Linked DNA regions of Homo sapiens: region 1 is linked to region 2. Evidence: promoter capture Hi-C in 16 types of primary human blood cells and fetal thymus (Javierre and others, 2016). All regions are on one chromosome and are shown on one strand. Each heading gives the region's core, a stretch centred on a gene start or on the middle of the fragment in contact. The rest is flanking DNA. Distances are from core to core; before and after follow the strand shown.

Region 1 (5,769 bases), core at 2,614-5,113, 300 kb after region 2:
GAGCTAAAGAGGCTGCATGAGTTCGAGGAGCAGTGCGTGCAGGAGCACTTCCGGGAGAAGGAGGATGAGCAGCAGTCGTCCAGCGACGAGCGCATCCGGGTCACTTCTGAAAGGTACGTGTAGCGTCCCCACCGCGGGCCCGTGAGCCAAGGGTTTGCTGACTCGGGCGCCCCACTCTATGGGGGATGCCAGAGTTCATTTAAACATGCACTCCGAGTTCTCCTGTTTTATTTAAACTTTAGGTTTTAACGTGGTTCCCACGAAATAGTGAGAAAGTTACTAGGTAATAACTGTGCATTGGATATAGAAGGGAATGACATTTATTTATCCTGGGCCGAAAGAAAACCTAACAGTTGACTACCTTCACCCCCTACCCCAAAGTGGGGGTGTTTCCGCAAGGTTAATGGAAGCTACAGAAAGCCATCCTTCTCCCAGCTCTTGTTCCTAACTTCCCTTTGCGAGCATGGTCCTCCCCAGGGGACTGCCCTCCTCATCCGGCCTAGCTGCTTGCTGCACCTTGGCAACACCTTTCCCAGCCTCACAGGGCAGAGGAAAAGGCTCCCTCCTGGGGCTCCCCTGAGAGTGGGAACTGGGAGGGGTGGGGTGCAGGGTGGGGGGTGAGGTGTCTGGCCCCATGAGGGTGGGATCCGCTAAACTAGGGCAGGGTGTGTCTTTCAGACACCTTCACATCCGCAGTACCCAGCAAGGTCAGCCTAATCTCCGCGGTGATGCTTAATAAATGCAGAGTGAATGAATGCAGGATGTGTGAACCAGTGAATGAGTAAATGAAGTCAGGTCGCGAGGTACAGAAATGGTGACATTTTCCAAACTTCGTAGTATTGCTCTACCCTAAGCTAGGAAAGAGCAACTGGCAAAGGGTAGACAGGAGCAATGGACCTTCACTGTCTGCACTTTTTATCACGTAAGTTTTGAGAGCCTTTATCATTTACTAAAAGCATTTTCAGCCTGCTAAAGATCTTGGTGACTGATAACACGCTGTTCCAAAGGGTTTCACTAACAACGTGGCCAGAAGGATGAGCTCAGAGGAGCCATGCCTAGCTCTGCTTTCTATCCTTGAGTACACAGAATTAAAGTTTCCTAACAGACACATTGAGAGCCATAAAAACAGGGTGGGACTTCAAAAAGATATTGCAGCTGACAGTTCCCAAACAATTACAACAGAATTCACAGATGCACCTTAGGTCTCCCTGGTGCATGTTGAGGCCAGTGAACTCTGCCCCAGCCCACAGGAGGGGAGATGGCAACTGTGGGTCCCTGGCCTCGGTTCCCTCCTAGACCCAGTCACCTTGTGACCCAACCAAATCCAACCAGCTAAACTCTAGGGTTACCTGCACCACCTTTCTTCCTTACCAAGGTGAATTTTTAATAAAACTTTGAAATGTTTCTTTGATGCTTTAACAGTAATTGCTAAACTTTCAAGGTATAAAAATTATTTCTTCATGAGAAAGTTAAGGTACCCCATGTAATCCAATTTCCACTTTTTAGTTAGACATTAACTTGAACGTAATTTTAACCAGTCATTTACAATGGAGATTGTGTTTTGTTTTGCTCTGCCTCCCCCTCTCCCTTCCCCGGCATTCCTTGGATTTTTACCATTCTTGGACCAAAGCTGCAAGAGTGTGGTTATCAGGTCACTACCAAATTGCATTTTTCTCTGGGGGCTCTGTGCACACGTAATAGGGATGAAAGTGTGTAGGGCAGAGAAAACATGCTGCTTCCTGTTTCCCTCGGCTGAGATCCCAGGAGCGATGGGAGCACATTCTTGCCCCTCCATTTCCCTTGGCCTTGTCAGGCTGACTCACAGGTGAATGCCCAAGACAGAAAGAGGAGAAGGCTTGAGGAGAAGGGAGTTTTCCTTCCCTCTTAGCCAAGCCAGCTGAGAAGCAAGGGATAAGGTGGGAGGATGGAAATAAAAGTAGCTATTTGGGCACCTGTGACTACTTTAAAAATCACACTTGAAGTACTCAAGCATTTCTGCCATTTCTTTAATATTCTTTCTATATAAAATTAGTTTTATTTTCTGCATCACCATTTCCCATTTGATGATTTTCCTGCTCTTCTCTCGGTCGTGTCTTCGCCAGCACTATTCAGTCTGTAGGGTCTGGTTAGGAGCATGTCAGCCCCTGCCTTGTCTCCCTGTTGTCTTGGTAGCTTTCAGAGCTGAGCTACCAATTCTCATGACTCAGTTTTACAGGCGTGTTCACACAGGATGGGTACCCATTAATCATTCTCCTCCACGCAGGGTGCTTTTAGTGCTTCTGTGCAGAAACCAAATTCATGGTTCTCTCCTAATGTTTGGAAATTTACCTATAAAATGCTAACAATTTAACCATTTATTTTTTCTCAAAAAGTTCCAACATTTTGTAAGATCCAACATTCAGTCCTGCAATGAGATTTGCAATACGATTCAGCATTGATTGACACAACACTGGGTCAGTCCTACCAACCACGCCCACTTAGATGTCATAGGGGCCCTGCTCTCAGGGTTCTCCTCCCAAACTTGCACTCCAGTCTCTGTGAATGGCATCGCCATTAAGCTCAGTTAGCAAACTGGCAAATCATTGTGGCACCTCCCTCTTCTTCACTAACAATCATCAAGTTCTGTTTACTTCCCCTCGTGAATACATCCTGATCCACTTATTTTTTTCATCCCTACCCCAACGCACCTAGTACAGGCTTCCATCATTTTCCACTTCCATTCCTGTAGCTGCCCCTACCTGAGCTCTCCATATTTGTTTCTGCTGTTTCAATCCATGTTGCACTGTCAGCTCTCATGGGGTCCTGTTCCCTCCTGCACTGGCTTTCCTGAAAAACCCTCTGTGGCCCCCACTGTCCTCAGGCCTGCAAGGCCCTGCCCTCTCTCTGGCTTTGCCATGCACTATCTTCTCCTTCATGCTCTGTATTCCATTTCTCTTTCATTTCCTCAAAGCACTGCTTCCTTCCTGCCACAGGGGCTCTGCATGGGCTGTGCCCTCTGTCTGATGCACCTCACCCTCCTTCCCTGCTCCTCTTCCTTGGATCTCTGCCCAAATGCCAATTCCTTATGGAAAACTTCACCACCTCACACCTTAGACTAGGTCAGGACCCTCAGGCCTTAAGCTGCATGAAGGCAGGGCCATGTCTGGGTTTGGTCCACCATGATATACCTAGAGCCTGCACATATCCACATAGTAGGAGCCAGACTTTTGTTTCTGTTTTTGTTTTTGTTTTTGTTTTTGAGACAAGGTCTCGCTCTGTGCCCAGTGCAGTGGCACAATCAGGTCTCACCACAGCCTCAACCTCCTGGACTCAAGCGAGCCTTCTGCATCAGCCTCTGAAGTAGCTGGGAATACATGTATGTGCCACCACGCCCAGCTAATTTTTTTTATTTTTTATTTTAGTAGAGAGGAAGTCTCACTGTGTTGCCCAGGCAGGTCTCAAACTCCTGGCCTCAGCAATCCTGCCTCAGCCTCGAGATTTTTTTGAACGAATGGATGACTTAAAAGCTTTTCTCCTGATTCGAATATAAATTTCTATCCCATCCTTAATGAGTTCCCTCATGGAATATCAAAAAGGAAACCAGCTATGCTCCCTCCAGGTTCAAGACACTGGTTTTACTATAAGGAAGTAGGAGCAGACTCAAGAGCCAAAGGATTGTGCCACAGGAAGGATAACAAGTGTTGGTGTTGGCACCATCTTTTTGCTCAAAGGGATAACATCAAAGAGCCATGAGGGCTGGTGGGATAAGAACATTTTATAAACAACTCCTTTTTTATTATTATTTGTAGAAACAGGGTCTCACTATGTTGCCCAGGCTGATCTCAAACTCCTGGGCTCAAGCTATCCTCCTGCCTCAGCCTTCCAAAATGCTGGGATTACAGGCATGGGCCACCATGTCTGGTCAACTTCTGGCAGCATGGCCAAAGTAGACCTCGTCAACCCATGTGTTCTGTCCTCATTGCTCCAGGAGAATATTTGGCAACATGAGTCCTTATCATTGGGAGATTTGAGGCTATCTGTGTCTTCTGCACATCCACTACGGAGCACACTGTTCTCTTTGTGGTTCAGCATCCCTTATCACAGGTTCACAGGTTCAAGAGCAATTGGGCTAGAAAGAATCTTTCCTGACAAAATTTTGTCAGAGACCCAACTTCCTTTTCTCAATGAGAATTATGTTATCCAGTGTGTTTTCCTTTTTTCCATGGCTTCAAGGAAGCTTAACACCAAACTTAATATTAAATTATCAAATATATTACTATAGGATTTTGAAATATGTGGGGTACGTTGCCTCTTCTCTGCTTTTTTTATATCGTCTACCTCCATTTACATACATTTTATTAATGTCTGACATTTCACAATATGCAGGATATAACTCATAAATTATACATTTTAAGTGTAGTTGGCCTTGTGCTTAAGAAGCTATGGGTCTTAGATGAGCTAAACCTATAATAGCATTTTCTGATTCCCCCAAAACTTTCTGGATTAAGTGGTTTCTTGTCAGATTTGTGGATATGGATTAAAGTGTTTTGTCTTTTTTTTTTTTTTTTTTAATTCTAGAGACAGGGTACTGCTTTGTTGCCCAGGCTGGAGTACAGTGGGATGATCATAGCTCACTACAGCCTCCAGTTCCTGGGCTCAAGTGAGTCTACTGCCTCAGCTTCCTGAGTAGCTGAGGCTACAGGCGTGCACCACCACACCCAGCTAATTTTTGCATATTTTGTAGATACAGGATCTCACTATGTTGCCCAGGCTGGTCTGGAACTCCTGGCCTCAAGCGGTCCTCCCGCCTTAGCCTCCCAAAGTGCTGGGATTACAGGCATGAGACATCATGCCCCATCCTGGATTGCCTGCAGGCTTGATGGGAAATCAGCAATTTGTGGCTTTGAAATCTTTTTATTTGGCATCCTCTTCCCATGTGACCAGAAAGAGAAATGGCTGGTAATGGAGACCTACCTAGAAGAAACAAGATAGTAACTAGAGGAACTGAAAGAGAGATCAGTCTTAGGAAGGAGGTGGGGGATTCTTTGCATGTAGAGAAGGTTGTAGAACGGCAAATGCGCAGTGATGGGGAAGACATTTGGGGATGATCCTGTCTGAATACCTTAATCTTCTAAATTCATAGGGTTCAAGGTTGCTTGGATAATAGGAAGGAGATGGCTTAAATGTTGAAATTTTGATGTGCCAGTGGATGACACCCTTGTTCCTGATCTGACTTTGAAAGCCAATTCAGAGACAGATGCAGACTTCAGGAGGATAGAGAAAAAAAAATCAGTTTTATTAGTAATAAAAGTTGTACTGGAGGGTGTGGCTTCGTTCTTGCCTACTACTCACCCAGAATTAGGAATACCCACTTAGCCACAGGCAGCACCAGCCACCACAGGCCTCGCTTCCCACAGGCAGAGTTTAGCCTGCGCGCTAAGCCTACCAGAAGACCAAGACAGAGAGACAAGCATGCAGTATCCTGGTCCCCAATCTCCAACCAAATGAGCCGTCCTCCTCCAAAATAAATAAAGGCCTGGAATGAGGTCAGAGCATTACTAATGAAAAGTCCACATACATAGAAAGAAAAACTAGGCATGGGCAAAGTGTACCTCTCCAACAATCAACATCACTGACTTAAAGCCAGTAGGAAGGATTCAAGTCAAGTGAGTTCACTTTTAGGGGGAATATGGCAGGAAAGGAGATAACCAGGATTGCTTGGCAGGAATAACAAAGATGCAAGTTAAATTAGATAACATGGCTTTGTACTGGGCCAGGTCAGTGTGGTTC
Region 2 (6,548 bases), core at 2,936-5,435:
GGACTCTCCAGAGGCAGGATCTGGGCAACCAGTCTGCCCTCAAGAGGGCCCCAGCCTGACCTATCGAAGGTGAGTCCTTGAATTCCTGCATCAAAGCACCTCAGGTTCCAAGAAAATCTGCTCCTGGTCTTGCTGCTCCCCTAAGCCCCTCTTAGCAAACTTTCCAGGTCTGGACTCGGAAGTTCTAATTGGCCAAATAATAAAGTAGCACGAGCTGCAAAGATGTTTTTCTTGGTTTTGTGTTATTACGCATTGTTATAATATCAACAATTACCTAAATGTGACAGAGACCAATGTGTCCACAGGATAACTCCTGGAAGAGTGGGAGTGGGAAACCACACTGCTACACAGCTAACCAGGACAGAAAGCTCTTAGCATGCAGCTGTTCAGAGAGTGGGGGTGGAAAATCAGAGCAGAGCCACGGCCAAGGGACCACAAGTGCCTCCAGAGTCAAGGCTGACCCTTGCACTTCTCAAAGGGTCTTCACATACTTGACCTCATGTCCCTGAAGACTTTGCAGGTGGTCAGGGCAGACATCACCAAGTTGCAGGGAGATCTGGGAACCGGTCCCTGGTCACATAGAGGAACAGCACAGAGCAGCTGGCCACCTTCCTGGTTGTGATATTCACCCTCTGCCATGAAATTACTGTGGATCCTGGAAATGCGGGAAGTGGGGCGGGGGCACCTTCCCGAGCCTAATGGAGTACGGGGCCCGGCATGACCTCAGTCACTGACTGCAGAGACCCCACAATGCTGCTAGAGGCCCACAAACCACGGACACCTCAGAGCCCACGGCTGCAGCAAAGCCATCACCTTGTGCCCTGCCTTCTCAGTCATCCCTGAGGCCTGCCTGGGTTTCTCCCTTCTGCAAGATGCTCTTTTCTCCCCCAACAGCAAGCTCCTCTTCTCCCTTGAGGAACACCAGTTACTTATGCTCTGCACACCTGGGAAGGGGCTGGAAATGGGCTTCCCAGGGGTGCCCTCCACCAGATGCTGAACCAGACTCCCTCCAGAGGCAGGTTTCTGGGCAGTTCAACTCTCATAATGGGTCACCTGGGGTACCGGTAACATGCACTCCCAACTGCACGCTGGAACTGTGTGTACTAGGTCGGCATCAGGGGCCCGGAAATCTGCATTCTTCCCAACTCCCCGCCACCCCGCTGCCGGAGCCCTGTGCACTTCCAACTTGGAGGCCGGCTTCCACCCTGGAGGTAGGACTTCTGATGTCTGCACACCTGAAGGGTGGAATAGTTTCTCTGCTTCAAGAACGAGCACTGTAGCACACTGCAGACACTCAAAGGGTTGGTCCCGTGCTCTTTTGCCTGCCTTCGGTTTCCAGGCGCTCCGAGGAAACTGGCCCCACCTACAGCGGGAGGCCCGGGTCTCCAGAGCCCCTGCGCCAATATTCTAGTCAAGAGGCTCGCGCGGGGCCAGAGCCTGAAGCGGGAGATGAACCCACCAGGAAGACATCCCAAGGCTGAGGCCCTGACAAGCCGGCCCCGCCCACGACGGCGAGCCCCTCCCCTCGGCCACCCCCCTCCTCAATTCCCCGCTACCGGTGCTGCCGAGTGGCAGGCCACCCTGACAGAGGCCGTAGAAAAATTTCCCAAACATTAAGTATCCTGCCCAGCACGGGCATCATCCCCCAAAGCGGATCTCAACCCCAGCCACGCCCCAATCGCTGCCCCCACCCGATACTCAGGATCCACCTGGAGCCGAGCTGAGCCTAGCCTGGCCCCTCCCCCAGGGCCACACCCACCCTGCAGCCGCGTCCCGAGCTGAACTCTGAGCCCACACTGACTCCCACCCCCAACCTGAGCCCCCACACCCTTAACTGACCCCGAATGCCTAGAAATGGCCCCGCTCTCACCCTCTACCCCATCACCTGCCACGTGGTTTGGAGCGGCCACAAAAGCCTCCCTGGGGAAAGTTAGTCCGAGATCTGAAAGCCTCACCTGCAGACCTTGGGCCCTTTCAGTTCCAAATGGTAAAAAAAAGGGGCCTTCAGCTCTAGGGTATCCAAGGCTGCAGCTTCTTTTTATGCCTTTTAATCACTATGTGAACTATTTTACAAATGAGAGACCACCACCCTTGGTCACAAGACAACAGTATTCAGTAGACGGGTTTTGAGCCTGCCCCCAAGGTAGAAGAGGTGAGTGTCACAGAAGAACTCACGTGAGCTCAGAGGAAGCATACAATTCTTTACACCAAAATGGGGAAGGATTGCCGTCCATTAAAATATTTTCATCTTTATGTTAAAAACGAAACAAAAAGGGGGGAGGGAACCGCCACAGATGAATCAACTACAAAGTATCGGGCCGCGCGTGGGAACTGTTGCCGCTGGGCTGGCGGGGGCGGGCGGTGATCCCCAGGCTGGAGGCTCAGCGCCCGCCCTGGTGCAGGTGCCGCCCGCCCCGCACCGGCCCAGGGCAGGTGAGAGGTGGGCAGGCGAGAGGGCAGCACGGAGGATGGGCAGCGGCCAGGGCATTCCTTTCCGGAGAGAGCCTCGAGGCCGAGGAGCCTAGGGCCGGGCGCGCCCCCGCCGGGCCGGATGGGCGGGGGCTCCCACAAAGAGCCGCAGGCGGGGAGCGGGACCCGGGACCGCCCCCCGCATCGCCAAGCGCCGCCGCTGACTTTGGTTACGACAAATTAAACCTTAGAGCGCTGGAAAAATTACAGGAAGAAGAGAGCGAAGAATGTGCCGAGTGGCGAAGGAAACCTTGTCCCTGCGTGAACTTCGCCCGCCGCGCGCCGGGGCCGGCCCCTCCCCTCCTGAGCGCGCGCCCGGGCAGCGGGGGAGGAAACGAGGAGGGACCCCGGAGAGCGTCCCCTGCCCCCGCTCCGGGCGCCCCACCGTCACGAGTGCCGCCTGCGGTCCACACCCAGGCCGCCCGCACCTGCCCGCGCCGCCTCCCGGCCGGGAGGGGTCCCCGCCCCCAGCCCAGATGACTATATCCGCCCCCGCGGCCCCACCCGAGCGCGCCCGGGGAGGGGGCGTGCCCGGCGGGGGCGCGGTCGCCTGGCGGGCGCCGGCTCCGAGAGCCAAGACCCGCCTCGCGCGACGCGCGGGGCCAGCCGCGGGTCGGAGCGGCAGGGGAAGGGGCGAGGCCCCGGGCGTTCCGGCCCGCCCGGCCCCCACCTCGCGCCCCATCGGGGACTCCGGGGGCGTGGTCGGGCAGCTCGCGCCGACCCCGTCCGCGCGATCCGGGCGCCCGCGCCGCCCCACTGACCTGTGTGAGTTCTCAGGTGCGCCTTGAGGTGCGAAGATTTCCCGTAAACTTTCTCGCAGCCCGCGTAGTGGCACTTGTGCTTCCTCTGCGGGGACTCGAGGTCGGCGCGACTTCGGCCCCGCCGGACCCTTTGTCTGAGGCCGGGCTCGCCGCTCCCCGCGGGCCCCGGCTCCCGCTCGGGCTCCAGCCCCGCCTCGGGCTCCGGCTCGCTCCACGCCGGGCTGGGGGGCGCGGCCGCCGCGCCTTCGGCGCCGGGGGAGGTGGGCTCGGGGGCGGGCGGCGGCAGGCGGCAGGGGGTCCTCGCCTTCCGGGCCGCGGCGCCCTCCCTGCGCTCCGCCGGGGCGGGCGCCGGCGCTTGCTGGTTGAGGTCCGCTAGGATCCGCGCCACCACGAAGAGCGAGGCGCTGTCCTTACCGTCGCGGCGCTCCTCGACGCGGGGCAGCGTGGGGGTGGCGGCCACGGCCGCGCCCTCGGGCCGGGACTCCGGCCCCTCCCGCGGCCCGTGCACGACCGCGCGGCTCGACATGGACACGAGGCACTCGGCGGCGAAGTGGTCCACATAGGCGGCGGCTGCCATGCTGCGGGCTGGGGCCGGCGGCGGTGCTCTTGCTGCGAGTCGTCAGCCGCGCATCCGCACCCACGGCCTCGGGAGAGCGGGCGGGGGGCGGGGGCGCGGCGCGCCCTCTCCTCGGGCTGGGCTGGGCTGGGCTGGGCGCGCAGCCGCCTGTGCCGTCACCCGCGCGGCTCCGCGTCTGCGAGGCGCCGGCCCGGCCGGGCACCGAAGAGTGAGCGCATGGGGCGCGCGGGCGACTGGGGTCCCCGCGCGGCGTCAGGGGCGGCCGGTTCTAAGGATGCCGAGCGGCAACGTTAGGGACCACCTCGCCAAGTCGCGGCCGCAGCTTCGCCGCGCATTGTGGCAGGCGGGACAGCTGCCGTGCGCGCCGCGGCTCCGTGTGGGCGGCCCGGCCCCGGGGGTGGGCGGGGCCGGGGCCACATCTGGACCCGACGTCAGCCCCCAGCCACATCCTGGCGGCGCAGGTTACAGGCGGCGGCGGCTGCGGGGAGCTGCGCGCGCGGAGGGGGCGGGGACCCCAGAGCGCGCACCGGCGGAACGGAGCGGTCGCGTGCCCGCGCCTGGGCAAGGGGGCGTGACCGAGGGCCGGGACAGACGCCATTGGTCCGTGAGTGCACGGCCAGGCCAATCCGAGCCGTTAGAGGGGCGTGCCCGGTCCCGGGCCCTGCGCGCGCCAGTGGGCGTGTCCCCTGGGCCGGTGGGAGGAGGGGCGGAAACTGGAGCGGGGCGCGCTGACGCATGACGTCCGGGGGCGGCGGGCCGGGTAGTCGCGGCGCGGAGCGGCTGCTTGTACCCCCCGCGGCGGGGACACAGCGAGCACTTCTCTGCCGGAGCTTTTATGTGGTGACAGCCTTGGCCCCCGGCATGGAGGGGAGCGGTTTCTGGAGGGCGCCATTTGTTCCTCCCGCGATGGGCGCCGGCGGGGAGGCGTGTCTGCCCGGCCGGGCGCGGGGCTGCCTAGGGGCGGAACGCACTCGCGCCGCGCCCTCCGCCGCCGGCTTGCCGGGTGGCCGCGCCTAGAGCCTCAGGCCGCTCGCCCTCCCCACGCCCCTGCCTTGCAGAGCTCCGGGAGTCCGGGCGGGGCAGCTCCCGCGGGAGGGACAGACTCGGGCTCGTTCCTGGGGTCCGGGGTGCGGCCGCGCTGCCCTTCAGCTCGGGTCAGCCCGAGCAGGACTGGCCTCGGCTGGCGGTGAGCCTGGCAGCCCGGGTGGCGCGCCCACCGCGGCCTGTGCCTCCAGAAGCGAACTACGTGCCAGGGCGGCCGGCGCCGCTGCTGAGGGAACGCGGGGCCCCTTCCTCCCCATCCCGCCGCAGGCCCGCTGCCAACTCTTCTAGGCTGCCCCTCTCCCACCGCGGTCGGGGGGGCTTCAAACGCCACCAGCTGCGAGGACCCCGCCCACCGCGCCCCACCCGCCCGCTGTCTGGGCCTCCCGGAGGAAATGCTCGGCTGCGCCCAGCCCGCGCCTCCCAGCCCGGGCTGGGCCACCTTGCCCTTGACTCTCACGGTAACCCCTACCCCAGCCCGCGGCCCCAGCCATTCTCCAGGCCTGGGCCGTCCTCGGAGACGCCGGTGAATAACTTCCCACCGCCGCGGAACCGGGCTCAGCAAACCCCCTACTGCCTCGCCCCGTTGCATTGTGCTTAATGGACGTTCGAAGGAGTCAGCCACCCTTGCTGTGTTCTGAGAGGAGCCTGGAGAATGAAGGAGCCCGGGCACTCACCCTCAGTGGACCCTCGCAGTGGGAGGGGGGTGTCATTCTTCTCTCAGAATTAAGGTTAATAGCCGAGTTCGAGTTCTCACCAAATTAATTTGGGGTTGGAGCTCAGTAAGACTGGTTTTCAGGTAACCGACGAGGGACCGAAACGGCCATTCTGGGTTGCGTGTTACGGTGAACAGCAAACTGCATGGATGTTTGAGCACCCTCAGTATCTGTAACTAAAACCCTGAAATGCGGTCTCGCTGATTGAGTTGCTACCCTCTGGGGAGACTAAAGGTGCTGGACTGGGTCTGGTCCCTTTAGGAGGGTCTGTGCTTGGTAGAAAGTAATCGTGTTTCTTCCAGGCAGATTGTGTTGATGACATTTAATAAGAGACGTGTGTCCTGACCAAGTAATGATTCGGAATGTTCCTCTATTCCCACCACATGTCACAATTAGTCACTTCTTAAGGAAGGAGTGGTCCTACACCAGCTTATCAGCCACCCATACCCTCCTGGCCCCTTTCCAGCCAGCAGAATTCTCCCCAATCTTCAAGGTGCCACGTCTCCCCACTGGGTCACCCCAGCCGGCATACACAATGGTAGGCCGTCTAGAGTCTGCACTATTCTAGTATTAGGCTACTACAGCCATGAACAAAACAGGCCTGCCTTGGGTGAGGGGATGCCCTACGTGGTCAAGGGTCCTCTGCATTGATGCACCCCCCTAAGAGTTTTCCAAGAATGTGGGTCCCAAAGAATTTTGACTGTGCTCTGTGGCATTCTGTATAGAAAACTGAGCTCCTTGGCTGGTTTCTCAAAAATCCACTCATTTGATGATTGTCGTGGTGTTCACTGACTTTATCCCAAACCTACATGGAAGGGTCTTCCGGACAGACAGCTCTTCCCCAAAGAAAATCTCCTCTTAGCTAAGAGTCCATGTTTTCTTTTCTAAGTAAGATTTTGACAGAGATGGCATATGTATATGTGAGGGCTGGGTCGTCTCGTTTCAAATGGAAGCAACAGAAAAGCAGAGCAGGTGTGTCTGGGG

Evidence for each region. Contacts are between HindIII fragments. The CHiCAGO score rates a contact against its expected background, and 5 or more counts as called.
Region 1: a fragment that was not itself captured here is called in contact with the fragment with the promoter of KLF13 in region 2 in 2 of 17 cell types (total B cells and neutrophils); the score reaches 6.9 in total B cells.

The regions. Positions count from the first base shown.
Region 1 is chr15:31,020,483-31,026,251 of GRCh38, reverse strand. It overlaps TRPM1 (transient receptor potential cation channel subfamily M member 1), which reads left to right. Exons shown (of 28, transcript NM_001252024.2): 27 at 1-113. It also overlaps a transcript of TRPM1-AS1 not described here. Among named protein-coding and RNA genes, the nearest start is that of TRPM1-AS1, 3.5 kb to the left of the region's middle. RefSeq lists enhancers at 1-371, 1,552-1,846. The HindIII fragment of the contact is 710 bases long and covers 3,509-4,218 here.
Region 2 is chr15:31,324,472-31,331,019 of GRCh38, reverse strand. It overlaps KLF13 (KLF transcription factor 13), which reads right to left and starts at 4,185. Exons shown (of 2, transcript NM_015995.4): 1 at 3,231-4,185. The coding sequence starts at 3,807. RefSeq lists enhancers at 789-1,353, 4,463-4,976 and a promoter at 4,004-5,060. The HindIII fragment of the contact is 12,301 bases long and covers 1-6,548 here.